3 separate regions of the Homo sapiens genome follow, and regions 1 and 2 are each linked to region 3. The links are contacts of gene promoters, found by promoter capture Hi-C in blood cells and fetal thymus (Javierre and others, 2016). All regions are on one chromosome and are shown on one strand. The core of a region is centred on a gene start or on the middle of the fragment in contact, and the rest is flanking DNA. Distances in the headings are between cores, read along the strand shown.

The links. The method cuts DNA at HindIII sites, captures the fragments that hold promoters and counts their contacts. A CHiCAGO score of 5 or more calls a contact.
Region 1: a contact is called between a fragment that was not itself captured here and the fragment with the promoter of CDO1 in region 3, in 1 of 17 cell types (total CD8 T cells). The highest score is 5.7, in total CD8 T cells.
Region 2: a fragment that was not itself captured here is called in contact with the fragment with the promoter of CDO1 in region 3 in 10 of 17 cell types (monocytes, total CD4 T cells, total CD8 T cells and 7 more); the score reaches 9.0 in monocytes.

The regions. Positions count from the first base shown.
Region 1 is chr5:115,523,334-115,526,053 of GRCh38, forward strand. FEM1C (fem-1 homolog C) reads right to left here. Exons shown (of 3, transcript NM_020177.3): 3 at 1-2,284. The coding sequence ends at 975. Among named protein-coding and RNA genes, the nearest start is that of FEM1C, 20 kb to the right of the region's middle. The HindIII fragment of the contact is 2,106 bases long and covers 275-2,380 here.
Region 2 is chr5:115,313,393-115,316,092 of GRCh38, forward strand. It overlaps LOC105379129 (a long non-coding RNA gene), which reads left to right. Exons shown (of 5, transcript XR_948684.3): 2 at 819-903. Among named protein-coding and RNA genes, the nearest start is that of CCDC112, 18 kb to the left of the region's middle. The HindIII fragment of the contact is 4,611 bases long and covers 1-2,700 here.
Region 3 is chr5:115,815,243-115,817,942 of GRCh38, forward strand. It overlaps CDO1 (cysteine dioxygenase type 1), which reads right to left and starts at 1,417. Exons shown (of 5, transcript NM_001801.3): 1 at 986-1,417. The coding sequence starts at 1,155. LOC124901049 (a long non-coding RNA gene) reads left to right here and starts at 1,846. Exons shown (of 2, transcript XR_007058908.1): 1 at 1,846-1,929. The HindIII fragment of the contact is 6,274 bases long and covers 1-2,700 here.

The sequences.
Region 1 (2,720 bases), core at 78-2,577, 290 kb before region 3:
GTGTGATGAACTTTGAAGTTAAATTTAAGCAAATTCTCTACACCTAATCACACCATCAGCACAAGCAGGACAATGCTGGAGCAGCATGAAAGGTGGGTCACTTTAAAAAGATTCTTCCTTTTACTGCATGATATATTAAGATGACAGACCTAAATTTCAACTGGGTTAATGAGTTAGAATAGATCTGTTTCCCAAATTTAGCACACAATAATTTCAGTGGATTAGAGAAAGAAACCTCAGATGTGAAGAAAGTGAAGAAAAAAACAAACAAAAAAGCTTGAGCTATAATAGCTAACCTGCAGCTCTAAAAATTGTCATGCTACAGAGTACTTTCAAAAAATTAAGTTTGTAACAAACATAAGAAAACAGTGTTTTGAGTTGAAGTTGACCAACTGCTGCATAGAAAATATGCTAACATACAACAGTCAAGTTTAAGCCTGTGCATAGAGAAGATAAAGCACTTATGGTAACTGCAAATGGTAACGAGTCCTTAAGGTTTGTACAACCTAGTATGGGTCCATAAGGAAAAAACTGTAGTAGAAATGGTTAGGACAAACAATAAAGTAGAAACAGGGGGGAAACTTGAGAAGAGAAGAAAGAAGCAAGAAAAAAAGACTTTCAATTGTATAAAATTCACAAACCAGTAAAGTATAAAGACACCATGGAGAAATGGTTAACTCTGCCCCAAACACCCAACAGCAAACAAAACCAGAATGAATAAGCCTTTGGCAGACAATTTTAGAAATTTGAATGTTACATTTCTCAATAATTCACAAACAATATATTATATGGTATATTTATATTAAATATTGGGAAACCAATGTTGTAAATTTGATGCTTATAATGCTTTAGCCAATGAGAGCACAATGATATCAATCAAGCTAAATGAATGCTGGTGTTATCACAACAGTGCTCATTTATGAAACAACTGTTACCAATTCGTGCTTTAACAGTGCTAAAATACAGTCAAGTTATCATCTATGAAGGGAAACAAAAGTCTCTAGCTTTTCTGGGATATGCCCTTTATAATATATTCTATGATTCACTATGACACGAGCAGCAAGACACTGCAATGTGGTATGATTTATAGGCTGGATTAAATTTTTAGCTATTTCCTTCTCATCCAGCAAGTCACTAGCAGTTTGTTTGTGCAAGTTTGTGGCATCAAAATGTGCACCTGATTTAATAAGGAGATTCATGATGTCTGGATGGTTGTTAAGAGCAGCGATATGCAGGGGACTGTTGTCATCCGAGTCTCTGACGTTCACATCAGCACCACATTCTATCAGTATTGCAGTAACTTGTAGAGATGGAAATTTACAAACAGGGTACCGCCCTACACATGTAGTATTCTTGTCCACAGCCAGATGAAGAGGGCTGAAGTTATTCTTTCCCCTTGGATGCAGCTTAAGAAACCTGTATATAGTCTGCTTTTTGAAATGGTCTTGTTCTAGAGTACAAGGAACTTTCTCTAACAAGCAAATTAAGTGCAAAATAATAGAAAGGGCCTTATTTAACTGTAATGGGTCAGCTGGACACTGAGTTTGTTTGATAGCTCGCTCTATTTCAAGGACGCTTTTGCAAAGTATGCCCATAAGATCATCAAATGTAACAGTAGTACCCAGCAGGCCTTTAGCCCTATCCTGTAGCATAAAGGAGAATAGTTCTGCAAAAGATAATAAGCTGCTGGCGGTCATTGGGCTTAAAGGATCCAAATTGCTCTGCTGCATATCCAAAGCATACTTCCATAGGTTGATGCATCGTTTGAAATTTCCAGAGTCTGCATAGACAGCGCCTCTATATCTAATATAGTAAGAGGTATCAGGATGAGAAGGACCAAGAATACGTTCTCTGATTAATAGTGCCTGCATTCTCATCTCATCAGGATCAGCAATAAGACCTTCTAGCTCTTCTGCACTGTTCACTTCCTTGGCATAATCATAAGCCATTATTAGTGTCTGTGGCACTGGTTTACTAATAATATTAGTCCTATCACTGTACCTCATGTTCATTGCCTTTTTCCAGTATTTCAAAGCCCCAAGCAGATCTCTTTTTTTGTCTACAAATGTAGCTCCCAGAAGCTCTAGAGCATTAATACGTTCTGTCTTGCTGGTCTGTGCATGGTGTGTCAGAAAATCCACAATATTTGTGTGACCAGTCACACTTGCTGAGAGAAGGGGAGTCATTCCATAACCATCCTTTTCCATCTTGGCACAATACATAAGAAGCATCTTCATGATGTCCAAACTTCCAGATTCTGCACAATCATGCAATGCAGTATTACCTTAAAGAGAGAGAGAAAAAAAGAAATAACATACATTGAGGGACCAAAATATAATGTAATATATATATGCACTTTAGAACCTAAAGAAAAGCAGGAAGCTTTAAGTTCCTAAGTAGGACATACTTGGTTTACAAACGAGAAAAAAAAATTCCCCCAGTACCTAAAACTAGTATCTGATATTAAACTTATTGAATAAATGACATGACCAAATTAGGTGTAAAAAGACATCCAAAGTCACCAGAAGAAATTCAAACTAATCCATGGTCTCTTCGTATTTTTCATTAATGTTTTAAAGTGCATATTTTATTATCTAAAAATCGGTAGAATACAAATAACCAGCTATTCACCATTTTACTGACAAGTCACTTAACTTCCAGGTCAGTTTCCACATTTATAAACAAGGAATTGGTCTTTTTTTTTTTCTTTAGAGACCAGG
Region 2 (2,700 bases), core at 199-2,698, 500 kb before region 3:
AATCTTTAATACAATTCCTTTTGCTGCCTAAACTACCTAGGGGGAGTTTCATTGTCTGAAATCAAGAACTCTGAAAGATTCATGTAGCCTAAAAATAAATTTTGGGTTGCCTTCAAGTTATGACATGCTTCTAATCCTAAATCTGCTTGCTTATGTGAAACAGATTCCATTAATTTTTATACTATATCCTAGAACCATAGAATTCTTGAATTTAGATGTAGAAGTGTCCTTTTAGAGCCCATTTTATTTTATCATTCACCTTCGGCTTTGAGCGAATTTTCATATCACAACCATTTGAGGGAACCAAGTTTCTCACAAAACCAGAAAAAAGGTAATTTATGTGGGCTGAAATGTCTTTGTGCCAGTCATGAGTAGGGCTGAGAGGACACCCTTGGGTAATGTTATTTACGTGAGAGACAGGTGAAGGGCCTGCAGGATGTAACCTAATTTAGTCAGACATTTCTGGCACAAAAAAACCAGTGACCTATAAACCAGTACTTTCCTGCAATTTCTAGTGAAACCAGGTCACTATTTCCAGCCTTTACTTTGTTCCCTGGACTCTTAGCATTGAGCTATGTCATGAATTTCCTTTTGATAAGGGTAATTAGTAAATTTATGGGAAAAATTTAAGTAAAAGCTCACAAGAATCTTTGGAAAGTGTCACTCTATAAAGTGTTCAGTTATGTCCCAGTAAGTCATGGCTGTATTATACTAGGATCACAAATTCTTAGAATTGTTATGGTAGTTTTTGTTCTTTTTAGTACATTGAGAAGAATCTGGTGAAACTTTCCTTTGATTCAGTTTAATTTCCCCCTCAGGTAGAAGGCTATAATGACCCAATGGGCCACCAGTTTGATATTTGATTCTGAACAATTTATTCACCAAGAATGGCTGCCTGAATGAGTAAGTATAGATGTTAAATTGGACTTGGTATCAGAATCACCAAAGGATAGTATTGCCCCTCTCCTTCCCCAAGGTTTTCATATGCTACCCTTTAGATCAGGATGGGAAAGAAACAGGATCCTATATTGGGTTTAGCTGAGGCTGATCGAAGCATTTTAATGCAAAATGCATTAGCTGGCAAGATGGCACTAAGCAGAATATATATATATATATATATATATATAGAGAGAGAGAGAGAGAGAGAGAGAGAAATAATATGTAGAAATTATCTTAGTTATAATAGGGGAACACAAAACAATAATGGTTCAAAAGCCTGTCTAATAGTTTTCTAAGGATATGTTCCTTTAAAGCAAACCATTCTGTGATTACATTTTTGGGAATGTTCTACTCTCCCATCCCTCTCTGCCAATGGCCCCTGGAACAAGTTTAAGGCTACATGTCCTAGACCTACGAAGTACGTGGCACTAAACTGAGACTCACCTTTAAGAGGAGTGGCTGTTCATGAACAATGTGGATCCTTCAATGTGTTTGGGGCCAAAACGAGATTGAGGAGCATTAACTTAAAACAATTTGAGGATAGGCCTTATAATATTTGGCTTTCCTTTCCCTTTAATTTCAAATGATAACTGTGTCTACTTTCACTACACTTGAATCCTTAATTTGAAACTCTATTCTCAGTAGGGTGTGGAATTGACTACTGTACCTCTCTATGCTTCACCATAAATACACAAACACATTCACACACACATGCACACATTTATACAGCACATTCAAACATAAAAGAGTGTATGGTGATGAGTTAGTTGACCTCCCTGCCTTGGAATCCATTCCCCTCTCTAGAAGTAACTATTGTTACAGGTTTCTTTTTTTTCTTTTTTTTTTTTAATAATTCTAGAGATATTGTTTCCTACATAAGCAAATACATGTGTAGGCATTTATATATACATATATCTTCTTTTTACACAAATATTTACATAATACATACACTGTTTACACATGCTTTTTAAATTTAAATATATCTTAGAGATAATTCTATATCAGCACACGATTATTCTTTTTTGATGGCTGCAACATATTTGTGAGAGAAAACCTGACAATCTCTTAGCTTAACTGTAGTTATGTTACTTTTTCCTTAGTCTCACGTAATTGTCAACTCTAATTATGTCAACCCATAATTAGAGATTGTGGCAGCATTTGCAATTAGTCAAATAGCAATCACCTGTAGAAAAGCATTTTGTTGTCCATCTATCTGACTCTGACTTCCTTTTATTTGGTCCAGAACTTGGGTGGGAAGAGGGATTTTCTATAGAAAATGACTTTCTATAGGTGATTGGAAGGTACTTTGCTAAAAGTGAGATATTTTTTAGTTTTCCCTGTATTTTTAAAGCCTCTTTTTAAAAGAAAGACTTAAAACTCCATTTTTCCCAAATACCTTCCCTCCTCTTGGCACCAATTGTTACTTCATCTAAATATGTGTAGGATTAGTTTTACATTATCCCCAGGTCTTTTTAATAGGATTGTGTTTCCTGTTTTCACTCAGTTAGATGACCAGAGAGTATACAAGGGTCTAAAGGCAAGCCAGAGTTTTGGAAGGATAGAGGAAGAATCCAAGCTACATCTCTGTCCTAGCCCAAGAAGTTCTTTAGCTATATTGGCCTCAGAAAATCTGCCTTTGGAACTTTTGTTGGCATAATGTTTTGGTAAAACCAATCTGATATTCTTCTGGTCTATTTCTTTAGATTTAATAAGATTTTTCTAATGAGATCACAGGCATTGCAGTAATTGAAGGCTCTGTCA
Region 3 (2,700 bases), core at 167-2,666:
ACGCACTAACTGCTCAGAAAAAGTAGAACCTCTCACACTTCGGGGTGATTAAATTTTACCTCTGGCCCCGGAGGATTGGTAGAGAGATTCGACTTAATCACCAAGCCGGGGCTGCAAAAAAGCCAGCTTACCAGGGCACCTCACTCAAGTACATCTGGGAAGTAGGGGTCTTTAATTTACATTACAGATCGTCAGAAGCAAGGATAAGATAAATCAGATCATTTGGGGGCTGAAAAAAACGACGGTCGAATATTTAATCTGCGAAACTTGGCAGTGGATTTGAATAAACCCACAGTCGGGGAAGTTAGTTAAATTGGTTTGGGAAAGGGAACAGCAGAAATTCCGTAGTGGCAGCTGACGGCCACAAGACGCTATTTTACATGAGTAAAAATGCTTGCTATAAGGTGCCCGGTTGCAGGCGACCGAAGGCGCAGTGATGGAGAACTGACGCGGGTGACTTGTCTTCTTCAACATCACACACTTCTCCCGATGGCTGATGTAGTGCTCCCCTGGGAGCACCCTCTGCTAGTCCGGCCAGACGGTTCCTTAAGGTGTCAGGAGGGCCCGAACCTGAGTGCGGTCTCTCCGCATCTCCGCGCCCGGGGTTAACGATGGCTTGGGAGTGTGGGCATTGCTCCCGAGGCCAGGGGCAGGAGGACTGGTGGTTTAGAAGCAGAGGGGTTTGCGGGAGAGAAGAGAACAGAAAATCTCGCAGACGCGCGGTGGCCTCCCTTCCCGGCGCCTGTCCGCCGTTCCCGGCCGGAGGTCAGCAAGGCCAGTAGGATCCACCTTCCGCCTGCGCTGTGGCCGCGGAGCCCCAAGCGAGTCGTGCCAGCCCCGCGGCTGGCCAGCGAGGGGGCGAGCGGCGGACGCAGCGCGGCCCGAGCTTCCCGAGCCAGTCACTTTGGGCTGCGTCCCCCACGTCCATTCCTCCTCAGACGGGGCGAGTGGGCGCCGCCTGGCATTGAAGCTGCAGCGCGCTCACCTGTACTGGTCGAACTTGGCGTACATTGCCCACTCGGTGGGGTCGCTCTCGTAGGCTTCCATGATGGCCTGCACCTCCTCTACATTGACCTCATCGCCGGCAAAGAGCTGGTGCAGGATGCGGATCAGATCAGCCAGGGTCCGTGGCTTCAGCACTTCGGTCTGTTCCATCTCGTGGGGAGCTGGCTGCGCGCGCGTCTCACTGCTGGGCTGCGGTGGAGGAGCTGAGCGAGCCAAGGAGCTGGGGGCGAGGGAGCCTAACAGCCCGCTAGACCGCTAAGCAGACACACACGCACAAACCCAGCATTAGAGTGCCGAAACGTAAGGATGTCGTCGCAGAGACAGCAAGAGACCCACCCCCAGGCCCCTGGCAGCGCAGTGGATCCGGGATCGCTGGAGACGCGGTGCACACACAAATCAGGTTCAGATCTGTGGGGTTCATCCTCCCGGGCCCCTTTTAAGCGCTTGGAGTCACTAGGAATGTACCAACGGCCCTCGGAGGGAGGACGAGGCGGAGAGCCACCCAAGAAAGGTGGCGGAGGCGGGGAGACCCTGCGGGCACGGCTCACGCGCACATCCCCGGCTTCCCCGGGCTCCGCGCCTTCCCAAGAGCCCCGTTGTCTCCGGCGTCCCAGGGATCGCGTGGGCTCCGCGCAATCTCTCCCCCACTTTAACGGCGCGTTTTAGCCGCCCGGCCTAACGCCTCTCCCCGCTCCACCTCCGCCGCTGTGGTTCGCGACGCTGGGACGTAGACAAAAAGGGTCGGAGGAGATGGCTGCGGGGACTGACGCTGAGTAAAGGAGGAAAAGAAAAGGGAAGGAGAGGGACACTTCTTCCAAATAGAGAATTGTGAGGAGCCTGCGAAAATTGAGGATGGATTCCACTCCTAGGCCAGAGAGTGCCTGTTTTGTCGATTGAAACTATCCACGATATGCCCCAGGCTAGGTGAAAATAAGTCCAAGACTTTATATATATATATATTTAAGTATACACACACACATATTTTTTAAAATGCGTACTGAAATATATTTTGACAAAGGAGACTCGGGTCTCTAGTAAGACAATTAGTGAAATGATGGAAAACCAAGAACTCTTTGATTTTAAAATCAAATATTTTCTTTTAAAAAATATCCAGTGCAAATAACCTGATATTTCATTTGATGGTGTAAAAGGGGGCTTTTTCTGAGGGGATAGGGCGGGCTCTGACGCAATAATTTAAGAGGCTATAATTATATTTGAATCTTTCAACCTTAGGCATGTGCTTGAAGGAGCCTGCTAGTACATACATATAAGGAAACACGTTTCTACGTCATGCATAGCACCTAGTACGTTGGGAACAACACAAATCAAGTACAGTAGGATTTAAATGAGAAAGATGTGAAAGGTGGAAGAAATGCAAGTGTAGATTTCTTCCTTCTCATTATGGATGGACGCAGGGAATAATTTGGATTTAAGGTTATTAAAGTTCTAGACTTCTGAAGACCTGTTTTTTTCTAGACTATGATCACCCTCCCTCGTGTATATACATGTATACAATGAAATTTACTTGTGCCAGGTAGTCTTAAACATCTCTGGTAAAACTCGCTACATTATATTCTAACAGTGTTGTTAAAAGCGGAATCACCTATTGTTCAAAAATGGCTACAAGTAGAAAGCATTCCAGAAGCCAGCCTTGGTGATGTGTGTTGCTGCGGGGTAGTGAATTAACAAAGTATT